3 separate regions of the Homo sapiens genome follow, and regions 1 and 2 are each linked to region 3. The links are contacts of gene promoters, found by promoter capture Hi-C in blood cells and fetal thymus (Javierre and others, 2016). All regions are on one chromosome and are shown on one strand. The core of a region is centred on a gene start or on the middle of the fragment in contact, and the rest is flanking DNA. Distances in the headings are between cores, read along the strand shown. Region 1 has its middle 6.1 kb from the start of PLCXD2. Region 2 overlaps CD96 (CD96 molecule). Region 3 holds the start of IFT57 (intraflagellar transport 57).

What was found. The method cuts DNA at HindIII sites, captures the fragments that hold promoters and counts their contacts. A CHiCAGO score of 5 or more calls a contact.
Region 1: a fragment that was not itself captured here is called in contact with the fragment with the promoter of IFT57 in region 3 in 1 of 17 cell types (fetal thymus); the score reaches 6.1 in fetal thymus.
Region 2: a contact is called between a fragment that was not itself captured here and the fragment with the promoter of IFT57 in region 3, in 1 of 17 cell types (fetal thymus). The highest score is 5.0, in fetal thymus.

Annotation. Positions count from the first base shown.
Region 1 is chr3:111,666,458-111,670,633 of GRCh38, reverse strand. No RefSeq gene overlaps it. Among named protein-coding and RNA genes, the nearest start is that of PLCXD2, 6.1 kb to the left of the region's middle. RefSeq lists an enhancer at 2,650-2,699. The HindIII fragment of the contact is 1,694 bases long and covers 1,052-2,745 here.
Region 2 is chr3:111,543,232-111,547,871 of GRCh38, reverse strand. CD96 (CD96 molecule) reads right to left here. Exons shown (of 14, transcript NM_005816.5): 2 at 2,470-2,826. Among named protein-coding and RNA genes, the nearest start is that of CD96, 3.4 kb to the right of the region's middle. The HindIII fragment of the contact is 3,926 bases long and covers 221-4,146 here.
Region 3 is chr3:108,219,385-108,223,813 of GRCh38, reverse strand. It overlaps IFT57 (intraflagellar transport 57), which reads left to right and starts at 1,390. Exons shown (of 11, transcript NM_018010.4): 1 at 1,390-1,703; 2 at 4,242-4,404. The coding sequence starts at 1,492. LOC124909405 (a long non-coding RNA gene) reads right to left here and starts at 1,209. Exons shown (of 2, transcript XR_007095999.1): 1 at 1,128-1,209; 2 at 1-868. RefSeq lists a silencer at 1,183-1,476 and an enhancer at 1,412-1,671. The HindIII fragment of the contact is 9,168 bases long and covers 840-4,429 here.

The sequences.
Region 1 (4,176 bases), core at 649-3,148, 3.4 Mb before region 3:
TTCCAAGCTTTTAAATATGCTTTGTTCATAAACAGCCTTTACCAGGGTTACAATTATAATAGGTGACATGTAATGGTAAAGACCCTGCTGGATTCCTGAAGAGCTGACTATAACCTTAGCCCTCTATTTGGAGACTCCCTTATTGTTTGAAATGTCTGTACTTTACAAGTGGTTTGTTTTGTTTGGATTCACGTGATAAATGAGTAGTGAGGATCCCAGATAAAGCACCAAAACAGCTTGCCATTCAGACATGTGTAGTTGGCAGGATAAGCCGGCCTGATTTTACTTGATTAAAGGCACCCAAAAAGCCTTGGAGGAAGCATATTGATTTAATGATATTGGGACCAGGGCTGTCCCTGGTCCCCAGAGCTAAGCCCCAGGACTGTCTTACTTCCCAGGCTGTGTACGAGATGGGGAAGGAACAGATCCCAAGCAGAATCAGAACACAGACATGTATTTGGTCGAGGGATATTGCCTAGAGGAGAGTGAGGTTATATGATGCTTTGAGTTCCACAGTGATGCGTCACACACAATTTTTTTTTCTGGCTGGGGAGTGGGGTGGGTGGAAAAGGAATAAGGGACTGAAATGAGGAGCCAAGTAAACGAAAGATGGGATGGAGTAGAAGCTGCTTTGCTTTATGGCCTCGTACCAGTAGAGTTTATTCCTAGTCTTTCCCAAGCTTCTTCACCCAGCTCAAGCCAAAAGACTGTATGATAAAGATCAGAGGAGAATGAGGAGATGCAACCAACATAGGTGGTGCTGGGACGTGACGACAGCAGCAGCAATTACCTCCAGGAAGAGTGACATCATTGCAGCAACTGGGGATCTTCAGGAGCCTCCAAGGAAATGGAGACACTGAGGCACACACTTGTGGACACATGATACAACTTACACATTCCTGACATCAGAAGACAGAGGATTGGGATCCACTTATTTTGTTGATTGGGGTAGAGCCGGAGACTATTGTTTTGTCATTTTTACTGTGACCATTCCCGGATTATACCCAGGTGGTGTGTCCTTGAGAAACTGGGTAGAAGAGAAGCAGAAGCTTAAGCAGGAAGTAGCGTTGTCTATATTACCTCATGCCCACTTGGTATTTATGGCCCACAACTGGGATTCTGTAATGAGACAAGAGTGAACGGCAGCAATGGCTGGCCATAAGATTGTTTCTCCCAGATTTGAAAGCTCGGTGTTCAGGAAGACCCTAAGAGCCTCTGTGCCTTTTAAGTTTATTGGACATTAAGTTTTTCTGGTATGCTTTCAGAAAATTTATTTTAACAGTAGTCGTTACTATAATACTTTTGAGAGGGCTACTAACAAGTGATGATTGTAAAATTCATTTTAATATCCATTCATTTCCGTCTACCACACCACATTCCAGCATCCTCTTCCATTTCTCCTTCCCACGCCACCTCCAATCCCTGAAAAGGAAATTGAGAGGAAATAAAGGCCTCAGAGCCTTTATTTTCTAGCTAGTTAGCTAGTTAGCTGCAAAGTCCCTGATTTAAGATGTTATAGAGCCACCTACTGGTATTCAAGGCTCACTTCAGGCACGTATAATATGTTCTGTCAGTGTCAATTATTCCTAAAAATGCCTGTAGATCACCAGCAACAGGAACAACTAGGAGTTTATGCAATATACAGATTTCTGGATCAAATGCCAACCCTCCTGCATCAGATCCTCTGGGATGGCATCTTTTCCTCCTGTCTTTAAAATGTTCTCCTCAGGGGATTTTTATGTCTCAAATGTTTGAGATGAAGGCTTTGAAATGTCAACAAATTTCTCTTTTTTAAAAAAGTTAAAATAGGTAGAATGGCAGAGTAAACAATTCTTATCCATGCTGCATATAACTTTATGCAATTAGGAAGACTATTTTGGCAGAGATAGTTGATCTCAACTAGCAGGAAAATCAATTGATCTGCCACCCTTACCTTTTTTTTCTCCAGGCTACCACCCCACCCCAAGGTTCCTAGAATTATGAGAATTATGTCTATTATTAGGAGACATTGTTGTATTAATGTGTATATTAGTAATCACTTGAGCTTCAGTCACAACAGAATGACCTCTGTGCATTTGTTATCATTTAACCAATCTAATCTTGGGAATGCATTCTTTTAACAACATGACTCTGCAATTTGGTGTGCCACTATCAATTGGAAATAGCATGATGCCACCTCATCCATGGAGTAAAAATTAGTAATATTATCATTACCTAATACTATCATTCTCTTCCAACTTTTTAAATATTAAAATTACAAGTTTGTACAAACAACCTTAACCAACAAAAATATTTTTTAATAAAGTAAATAAATTTCAATGTAAATAAAAGTAATGAATTTTTAGTGTGTCAACAACTCTCTCTGATCAACTCTCTCTGAATGTTAGGTTGTAGTCAAAAGCCCTTACAAATGCTTCTTGGCCTTTTGATGATTTTGTTTCAAAGGATTCTGATTTGCTTAAGTGTCTGTAGTTAACTCCCCAACTCAGCCACGTGTTCGGCTCTGCCCTTCCTAAACTGCAGAAACTGGTCATGGAGGAAGTTGTAGTTTATCTTAGCAACATCTGCACCCACAGCTTCCTCTTCCTTTGAGTAGCAGAAGTAAAAGAGAAAGTAAAATTTATGCCACACATCTTTCTGTTTCAGCCAAGTATAAAGGAGAATATTCTAGAAGTCAGAGTTAAGCAATATAATGAAGTAGAGGAGGAAGTGAGTTCCTATAACTGGAAGCATCCAAGCCAAGCTTGGCACCAATAAGACAGTAACATGATAGAATTGAAGCACCTGATGCTTGATTGAACTACATGAACTTCACGGTCTTTCCAACCGTACTCTGTTTTTTTCCCTCTGCCTGCTGTAGATACCTTTTGTCTTTGCACAGTTAAGCCTTTCTTTCCTTTTTATTGCCTTTCCTCACTCAAATCTTTGACTTCATTTGCTGTAGTCAGGACTAACAGAACTTCTATATAAATATGGACCTAATATTCTAAAATCATGCGGCTACCAGCAAAAGCTTGAGATTGTGTTTTGGGGAGTACCTTTATACTGGTAACACGTTCTAGCCTCTGGGGACACCTCAACATTTTCTCTACCCTCTCCCCGCATTCAGCACCCAGGATGAGATGCGCTTAGCTCAGGCAGTCAGGCTCAGAAAACACATAATGAAGCTCTCAGAGTGGGAAGTATGAATGACCTGGATGGAAGTCACCTTTAGTGCCTCCATCACCTCCACAGTGGTAGGATTGATGTGTGTGCGGCCCGAGGGCAAAGCTTCTCAACTCTTGCGCCAGATGTGCCCTAATCATGGAGCTGAGTAAATGCACACTCCCCAGAGCCCTGTATGGCAGGCATGACAAGCACTGATCCTGGCATTTCTTTCAAGCTGCATAGTTTGTTTTTGTAAATTCATTCACATTTTGTTACACACACACACACACACACACACATGCACACACACACACAAAATTGATGTTCTGGATGTGCTATGTTTGCCCTGTGGCTTCGAGTCCCTTCTGGCACACGCCTTTATTCTTGGGTACTTGTGACCCCTAATGTGAAAGTCCTAGGTCTGGAAGAAAGGCACCAAGAAGTCAATTAGGCACAAGAAAGCTCTGTTCACTCATGGCCCAGCCAACTTTAGTAAAGTAGAAGACTATGAGTGGATTTGAAACCAAAGCTTGAAATCGTGTCTATTTGCCCAAACCTTAGGCAACCTGGAGCAAACGCTGGTGAAGAATCAAGATTATGAGCCATTAGACTGTCTTCTTAAAGAGAGTAGAGAACTGAAAGCTTCCCACCTAAGCTTAACTCCCTCCTCTTGAGTTGACCAGGAGAAAGTTTCACTTGTAGGGCTCATCCTGCCCTTCTGGTACCGAATGTACAATATTAAAGCCTGATAAATTTACACAGCGGAAGTAGAAGACAAGAGGCCTCTGACTCAGGTCTCAAACTCCTATGAATCTTTAGCCTGCTGAGGTATGTTCTTGCTCCAAGAGTTTTAGACTAAGTTTCCTCACCTGTCTAGACTGGTGTTCTGTGTCTACTTACTTGAGTCTTCACTGATTCCTTGGATCTGTTTTTTTTTTTTTTTTCCTCTGCACCTATGATGCCTGCCTGATTCTACCAATCTGGGCTAAACTTTGAAACTGACTCAGTGGCCTATTCAGCCTAAGGCAT
Region 2 (4,640 bases), core at 934-3,433, 3.3 Mb before region 3:
ATGTTTCCCCCTTCTGTTTTGCTCTTTTCTATTTTACTCCCTTTGTACCCAAAATCACAATACCAGAACCATTTCTCTAACACTGAGGCCATTGCTTTTCATCTGATCCAGATGACAGCAGCAAAGTTACATTCAGAAGACCGGAAATTTTCCAACCGCAAAAAGTATAGATACGGTTTCTGCCTCTCCAGTGACCTGCAGTTTTTAGTAGCTACAAGCTTAACTCCCTTGGTTCTCTTTATTTTAAGAAATACATTTCTTTAAAGGCAACATCATCCTCCTTTCTGGATAATATACTATCTGTTCTCCATTGCTGTCTTCATTTTGTGGCATCACTTATTCTATTTCCTATAAGGTACATCAGTCCATGTTGCCAAGTCTCAATGAAGGAAACACTGAGTCCTCCGTGAGGCAATAGTATTGTTTACTGGTTCAGGCAGAATGTACAAAAAAAACTATGTATGAAACCAAGGTCAATGTGTACTTGTACTAACATTACATGGCAAATGTCTTACTGGGTTCCAAATGAGGTCAATATATAAAAAGAAGGAGCAGGGCTCATATTTAATTGGAACTGAGAAATAGAATTTGCTCAATATAATTATTACTATTCTTAATTGAAAACTACCATTTACCAAACTCTTATCCTTTAGCAGGAACTATATGTTTAAGTGCATTACACAGATTATCTCATTTAATCACCAAGCTAGTGATACCTGTAAAGAAAGCACTATAATTATCCATATTTGTTATGTAAGAAACTTGAAACAACTTGGGAATGATGAAACGTATGGTAAATGATAGAGCCAATATCCAAATACAGGCTACCTGAATCAAACTATGTATAGCTAAACAGTTTTCTATATAGGTCTTCCATTTCTCTTTACTTCAATCCCACTCCACTCCATCCTTAATTGAACTGAAGTGTGTGTGTGTGTGTGTGTGTGTGTGTATGTGTCTGTGTGTGTGTGTGTGTGGTGTGTTTTCCTCCTGGAAAACAGCAAGGGAATTGGGCATTATAAGATAGTAGTTGATGGGACCTTGGCCTATAGGTGGACTGTTCCAACAGCATATTTTTAAAGCAAGTAAGTTATAAGACATGGAGAGGAGGCTATAAATCCATACCTGTTGCTTGTTCTGGACAGCTCTATGCCCCCTTTAATATGACCTTCACGAGTTATTTTTTTTTCTTATATTACCAGGCCACTTTGCCCTGAGTTAGAACCAGTCCACTGCCAGTGCATTTTGCATCTGTTGGCTTTCACTTTCATTGTTTTCCATTAGCAGAAATGAAAATCATTTACTTTAGGACCAGGTAATTTAGGGCAGGCATTATTATAATCATTTTCCAAATGGGCTCAGAGAATTTACACCACAGGCCCCAAGTCAAATTTTATTTCTATTCAGAAAGGAGCTAGAACTTAAATCTAGGATTCCCACTTCTAAATGCAGGCCTCCAAAGTATGTTTGGTGTGAATGCTTCATAGTTAGCAGCTTCCTTTGTCCCTTTACCTGCCCTAGACTAAATATTGTATACCCAGAATCACTTTCATAAATTCACCCACAAACCTTCCTTTACCTTCCATCACAGTGAATAGCACCACCATTCAGGTGTGCATGCCAGACACCCAGATGTCACCTTTAACTTCTTTCTCTCCTTCCTTCATACTGCCCTTGTCTTATATTCTCTCTATGATCATATCTGTTTTATGCCCAATGAACAAAATTTGCCATTTTCCTTCTATATCTACCTGAACTACCACTCTCTCTTTTCTGGGCTACTGAGGTGGTCTCCTGAGTTGTCTCTACCTTCTCCTTCTTGTCCATCTTCACCTCATTTTCACATGAAAGTCAGTATGACTTTTTTTTTTTAAACAACACAAATACAGTCAGCCTATAAATGTCATGCCATCCTTTTGTTGGAAATACTTCCATGTCTTCTTATGGTTCTGAGATCAAAATAGAAACCTTTTAAAAGGGAAGCTGACCAGGTCCAACATGATCTGGTCCTTACCTGCCTTATCCTTTAATTGCTGTATTGCTGTCCCACTGGCATTTTCCCATTTCTTCAAACACTCCAAAGAGCTTCATGCAAGCTCTTTTCTCTCTCTGGGATTACTCACAATCCCACTCTGCCTCAGCCCCACCTCCTAAATTGTGGTAGTGTCTACTCATTCTTTAGACTTAAGCTATGGTGTTAATTTCTAAAGGACAATTTCAATGGCCTCTGTGATGTGCTCCTTCACAAGACTGTTACAGTATTTATTATCGACACTTATCACTGTTGCAAGTTTACATTTATTTACTTAAATGCTGTGGTCACTTCCTGTCTCTCTTATCAGACAGTAGCTCTTTCTGCTCAACCTTTGTATGCTGAGCACCAAGCCTAACCTTGCTTTTCTTAAAATGTACATTTGTTGAATGAGAGAGAGCTGAATGAAAGCACATCCCTCTACCAGTTATGCTTACCGTGTGTCTGAATGAGAAGGTTGTAGATTTTAGTCTGAATGCCCTCTGGATACAGAACAAGCATACACTCGTACCTTCCACTGACTGAACAAGACATATTCCTTAAGTGCAGAGTCCATTTTGACCCATTCTCAGGAGTTTCTGTGAAAGTCACAAGTGACTCACAGGGTCTCCCATAGGCACAGTAGAAGCCGTATTGGGGATGATAGACAGCAATCAGGTCTATCTTATTGGTGACCTTGGACCATTGCATCTGCACGAAGAAGCCTACTGTCTGTGTTTGGCAGGTCAGGTTGACATCAGAGCCAAGTGTAGCATAAACATTTTCTTCTGTGTTGACTGTTTTTTCCCAAACTCCTGAAAAGAAAGAACATGAGCCATGAGTTTAAATAATTCACATAGAATGACGCTTAATTAAAAACCCTAGTCACTTCAGTAAGGTGAGGGGAGCAACTGAGGAAATTTCTCCCTGGCTGCTTTAGGAATAGAGTAGAGCTTGTGTCTCACTCAGATAGAGATGCATGAGACAATATAAATGAGGAGGCATTTACGTAGAGAAGCTAGAGGTAATTACTGACTTCTAAATATTTATCTATGTGTTGGTCTGACCAAAATATAATTGAAGGTTTCAGACTACCTGTGAATAAAATTAAGCCTATTTGAAAATTGAAGCACACCAGCAAACTTAGTATGACGATTCTTCTTACGTTTAATATAATTGGCTTTTTGGGTTATAAAACGACAGCTGAATATAATACACACGTGATGCTTTCTGAAACTGCAAAAATAAATGATATGTGTATAGCAATTTCTTTGAAAAATACATGTTTACAAGGGCCTTTCATATCTTATCTTGTTTAATCCCCCTCACACGCCATAGGTGATGTTGTTAACCCCTTTTTATGAGGAAGAAACTGGGCCACAGAGAGATGAAACAGTATGCTCAAAGTCACACCTCCAGGCCTGGCGCAGTGGCTCACGCCTGTAATCCCAGCACTTTGGGAGGCTGAGGTGGGCAGATCATGAGGTCAAGAGAACCAGACCATCCTGGCCAACACGGCAAAACCCCGTCTCTACTAAAAATACAAAAATTAGCTGGGCGTGGTGGTGCACGCCTGTAGTCCCAGCTACTTGGGAGGCTGAAGCAGGAGAATCGCTTGAACCTGGGAGGCGGAGATTACAGTGAGCCGAAATCATGCCACTGCACTCCAGCCTGGCAACAGAGTGAGACTCCATCTCAAAAAAACGAAAAACGAAACAAAACAAAAAAAGTCACACCTCCAGTAAAAGAATGAATTCAGTTGCCCAGAGTCTGTGGTCTTTCTATAACCCTCATAAGTATAACAGTAAAACTCCAGCCAAGGAAGACAAAGAGACCTTTAGAGACCAAAGAGAACTTTATTTAATTCAGGCATCCAGGCCCACAGCAGACTCATGCCCAAAATGGCTGCTGACTCTGACAAAGAAAGCAGGCTTGCTTATATGTCGTTTGAGGTGGGAAAACAAGGCAGGATACAGGTTTCAGGCAAAGACAGTAAATTATTTAACCCGTGACAATTCTGAGAAAACTTACAATTTAGTTATCTTAACCAGTCAATCTTGAAGCTAGACAGAGATGGGGTAAGGTAAAACAGGAGTTACAGAAATATGTGGGGGTCTGGGGGCAGGCAAGAAGCTTGGAAGGTTGAGATAAGCTCACAGCTGCAACTTGTTAGCAATGCTGGGAGGGGCTACTTAAATTTCTTAGCCTACATATAACTTCTAAGTAACCTATACTTAATGTTAACTATTACCTATGTTATGCTTATTATTTTAAACTTTATTATTACTTATTTTATTTTATTTTCCTTCCACATAACTTCCAAACTGTCTCCCAAATTCAGTCTAGTTGATTAGAGTAAGAAATTTCACTTTCAATATACAAGGATTGAAAGGACCTCATCTAACCTTAGGTAGAGGTTCCACTTAGTATCACCTCTAATCGATGGTCTGAAATACTAGACATAAGTAGAGTCTCTTTCCCATCAGCAGTCTGACTGAGTGATACAGGACACTTAAAATGTGTTAAGCATTGAGACTGTGACATGCCTTCAATAGTGTTGGCCTCAGTTTTAGAATTAACATGGAATCCTGTTACAGAAATGATATATATTATTGTGACAAGTACCACT
Region 3 (4,429 bases), core at 141-2,640:
TATTAAAAGCAGCTGGCTCATGACTTGTGGTAGGCAAGCAATGTTATTTATTTAAAAAGCAATTCTCAGTGGGCTGCCCTTCAGGTTATTCTCTACATAAGTCTGTAATTTTATGTACTTCCTTTCTTTAATGAAAAAATGGTATTTGCCCTTCTGACTTTTCACTTTGATAACCTTATTAGTATCAGAAACAAGTTAGCTGTAGACGGATTACAATGAAAAGTGTTCTCATTTTTTCTAATAAAAACAGGATATTGTAGATACATTTCAAATTTCAGTTGTCCAAAAATGTAGCCCTTCTATATTTTGTAGTGGCAGATACAAGAGATCAGAGAGCCCTTAAAAGTCACGTTATAAACATGAACATATGTTCAATCTCTTGTACTAAGTTTTCTTCCCAAAAACTGCCAGGCATCCACCACTTACCTCATTTTTTGCAACTGTTAAGAAAATTGCCTAATACAGAAGCCTTTTGAAAACTGTAAAGCTGGGCCATTTCTGTGGTCAGTTATGTACCTTTTCTTAAATTTTCTAGGTCAATAACTGCAGAATACAGTAGTAACACCCTATCTTTAGCCACCCTTAGAGCTTTAGGGCAGGGAAATTCCTTTTAAGACCATCTCTATTCTGTTGGATTTAACGAAGTACCCAAACACTTTATACTACATGTAATGGGTTTGAAACAGATTAAGCAGCAGGATGGAAGCTTAGTATTCTTGTTTTTGAAGTAAAACAAATCCTTCCAAATGCCTCCTTTTGTTCATTGTCTTCCTCATCCTTCCAACCACTTTCCTAGCACTGGAGTAACAGCCAGGCAACGTAATACAGTACTTCAAGCTTTACAATATACTGTTAAGTGCAGCATTGCCTAGTGAGAGAAAGATAAAATTAAAGAAAGAACGAGAGAAACCTCTCGTTGGAAAGTTCCTGCAGTAAAAGTGAAACCTATGGTATTGACTATCTTTACAACTATGAAAAACTTTTCAATTCTGAGAAAATAAAGGTATCAGTGAGCCAGTGCAGCCTTCAGTGCTACACGTCTTCACCTCCCTTTAATCTTTTTAACAGCTACTAGCTGACCCAGATGCCCGCTTAATTGCTTTTAGCAACCACCAGGTCCAACACACCTCAAGCCAGCTCAAGACTCACTAGGCAAGCGGAGCAGAAACGTAAGCCGGCTCCCTTCAGACTTTCAGCGAGGGAGAAGACGCAGCCGGCAGTGGGGCGCGAACGCCACGCCTCCATGAGGGGCGGGGCTGCTTCCCGACCACCATTTCCACAGAGGCAGGGCAAGAAGAGGGCCACAGGTGACGTCATTCAGGAAAGCCGCCCTGATTGGAGGGAAGGAGGCGGAGTCTAGTTTCCCTGGTGACGGATTGTCCGGTGGTCGCCTGGTAACCGGTCGTGGCTGTACTGGCGGCGGCAGGGCTGGCGGCTTAGGCCGCAGAGGTCTGTGGGCCTGAGCCCACGCTGGACTCTGTCCGTTCTGCGATGACTGCTGCTCTGGCCGTCGTCACGACGTCGGGTTTGGAAGATGGGGTGCCTAGGTCCCGTGGCGAAGGGACCGGGGAAGTGGTCTTGGAGCGGGGGCCCGGCGCGGCCTACCACATGTTCGTGGTGATGGAGGACTTGGTGGAGAAGCTGAAGCTGCTCCGCTACGAGGAGGAGTTCCTCCGGAAGAGCAACCTGAAGGCCCCGTCCAGGTGGGTGCCGGCGTCCCCGAGCGCCCGGGTGCCTGCTAGCCCCCAGGGAGATGCCCTCCTTGGTCCTGCTGGGAACCAGTTTCGTGAGAGCGGGTTAGCAATTCCTTGCCTCCGTCTTCCTAGCCAGGGAAGGGCACTTCACCCCAAACTCCCGGGAGGTCCGTGGAGCTCACGCAGCCCTGACTTGGTATTTTTGTAGAGAGAATAAATAAGTTTTGGAACGGCAGAAAGGATCGGAAGACAGCTTGCCTGTTTTTTTCCAACACACACGCATTACCAGAAAACACAAACTATATTTTCTGATTGTAAAGATGAAACAAATACTCATTGAAGAAAACTCAGAAAAACACAAGTAAATGTCTAGAAAAATTATAAGACCGTCCAAAATTCGCCTCCAGAGAGGAATGCCATTATCACTTAAGGCTTTTTTTCTAGTTTGGGGTTTTTTGTTGTTGTTTAAGACCCTGTTCATACAACTGGGGACCGTGGGTACTTAGGATCCTGTTAAGGAGCACTTTAAATGCGGTTAGTAAACTTGTTAACTACTTGCTATGGTTTAAAAGACTTCTGCCTTTGTAATAACCATACTCTCAGAAACTGAAAAGTGGAAAAGACGAATGACAACTATTGAATTGTCCCCCTATCATAGAACCTAAAGTTTTACCCTTGTTCCGGTGGGGGAAAAGTCCAACATATCCTGAAAGCAATGCCATTACTTGCTGAGGGTAGTGGTCAGCTAGGACCTTCTCCTCAAATCACTGTAGCTTAGCAGTAGCCAGATAAATCAGTTTTATAGCTTTTCTTTCACTTTAATACTTACATTTGTATATTTTATTCCATAAAAGGCAATCAGTATTAAGAATCTATAGTACTTAATGTCTACAGCCAGGCTCAAATAATTTCCCTTGATAGTTTTAATCTCATTCCACTGCTGTCTTCCAATAACTTGAATTGAAAGATATGTAGGCTTGATATAAACTGTTCATATTAAATTAGTCCATGGTCGGAGAAAAGATAAAGGAAAAAGTAGTGTTGCTTGATCCATGTTAGAAAAGGTAGTCCTGGGATTATTACTTAAAGTGAATTGATCAGGATAATATAGACAACCAACATTTCCTATGTTAATAAAAATGCATTTTTTTCCAAGTATATTTTTAAAATGAAAACAAAATGTCCTTAAGGTTCTGTTGATGTCATCTCTTGCACTGTGTCCTCAGGGGTTCAGCAGGATACTTTGAATCATGGATTTGTGTGGGGATATCCTAGTCCAATGGTTCTCAAAATGTGATCACCAGACCAACAGCATCAGCATCACCTGGGAACTTACTAGAAATGAAATTCCTCAGGCCCTTTCCCAGGTCTACCTTTTCAGTAATTATAGGGATGGGGCCTAGCATCTGTTTCAGTAAGCCTTCCAGATGATTCTGATGGACACTAATGTTTGGGAACCACTGTCCTAGGTTTACAGTATCTATTGGTGTTCATTCCTCTGCCCTAGAAGAGTTATCTGCCGATAAGGAAAAGATGACTTTTTGGTGGGTGGGTGCTTTGAAAGGATAGTGAGCATATACCTGGAAGGACTTCATGGCCTTTTTTCTTCCCAGCTTTCTGTTATCTTCCAGAACATTTACATTTATCCTGCAGGAAAAAGTTTGGGAAACATGAAGGAGTACACGACAGATTTTTATGACAATGGTTATAATAGTTGTAAATACATTGTAAACATAATAATGATAGCTACACATGAACAAGACAAATAAGATCTTTGATTAAACTGACTTGAATGTTGTTGCTAGTGAGTTTTATTCCTATAATGTTTAGGTATAAATCATACTGATCCTCGTAGAACTGTGTTTAGTAGACTAGGGGATTAAGCAAGAGCCCACAGATGTTTGACTGGTGATGTGACATTCACAGGTTCTTAATCCTGACTACACCTTATAAACATGTAGAAATCTTTTGAAATATACCCCATACTGGGCCTACTTTCACTGAAGTTCTGATTTAATTCATTCATGAGGGAAGAAGCAATGTTTGGTCAAGTACCAGTATTTTTATTAGCTCCTCAGGTGATTGAATATGCAGCCAACATAGAAACAAATGTTCACCATAGGTGATAGGTTAGAAACAGTAAAAATGCATAATGAGTAATCGTTGAGGTCTTTTTTAAACTCTGAGGTTCTTCCAGATTACCATTTTCATTCATAAGGTACTTACATATTATTACTGACACTTAAATCATTTTGGCAAAAATTCTACATGCTCTGTGCTCTAACATGCACTACATTTCCTGGGTGTAAGGTCTTTGATCTAATATTTTGGGTACAGTAGTAATTGCCCTAATCCTGCTGATTTAAAAACTTCAATGTGAGTGCTGTGGATTACTGGAAACTTCAAAGGGTGAATTATCGAGGTCTTTTGATGGCCATTTGGGGGGAAGAAAGATTGTTGGACAATTGTGAATTCGGCCCTATTAGTTATTATAGACTTATTTGCATTATTTCACATCCGCCCCCATTCCTCCTTGTTTTGAAACAGACACTATTTTGCACTGCCTACCAACCCTGGCGAACAGTTCTACATGTTTTGTACTCTTGCTGCTTGGTTGATTAATAAAGCGGGACGTCCCTTTGAGCAGCCTCAAGAATATGATGACCCTAATGCAACAATATCTAACATACTATCCGAGCTTCGGTCATTTGTAAGTGTAAACGACCCTTCTTTTT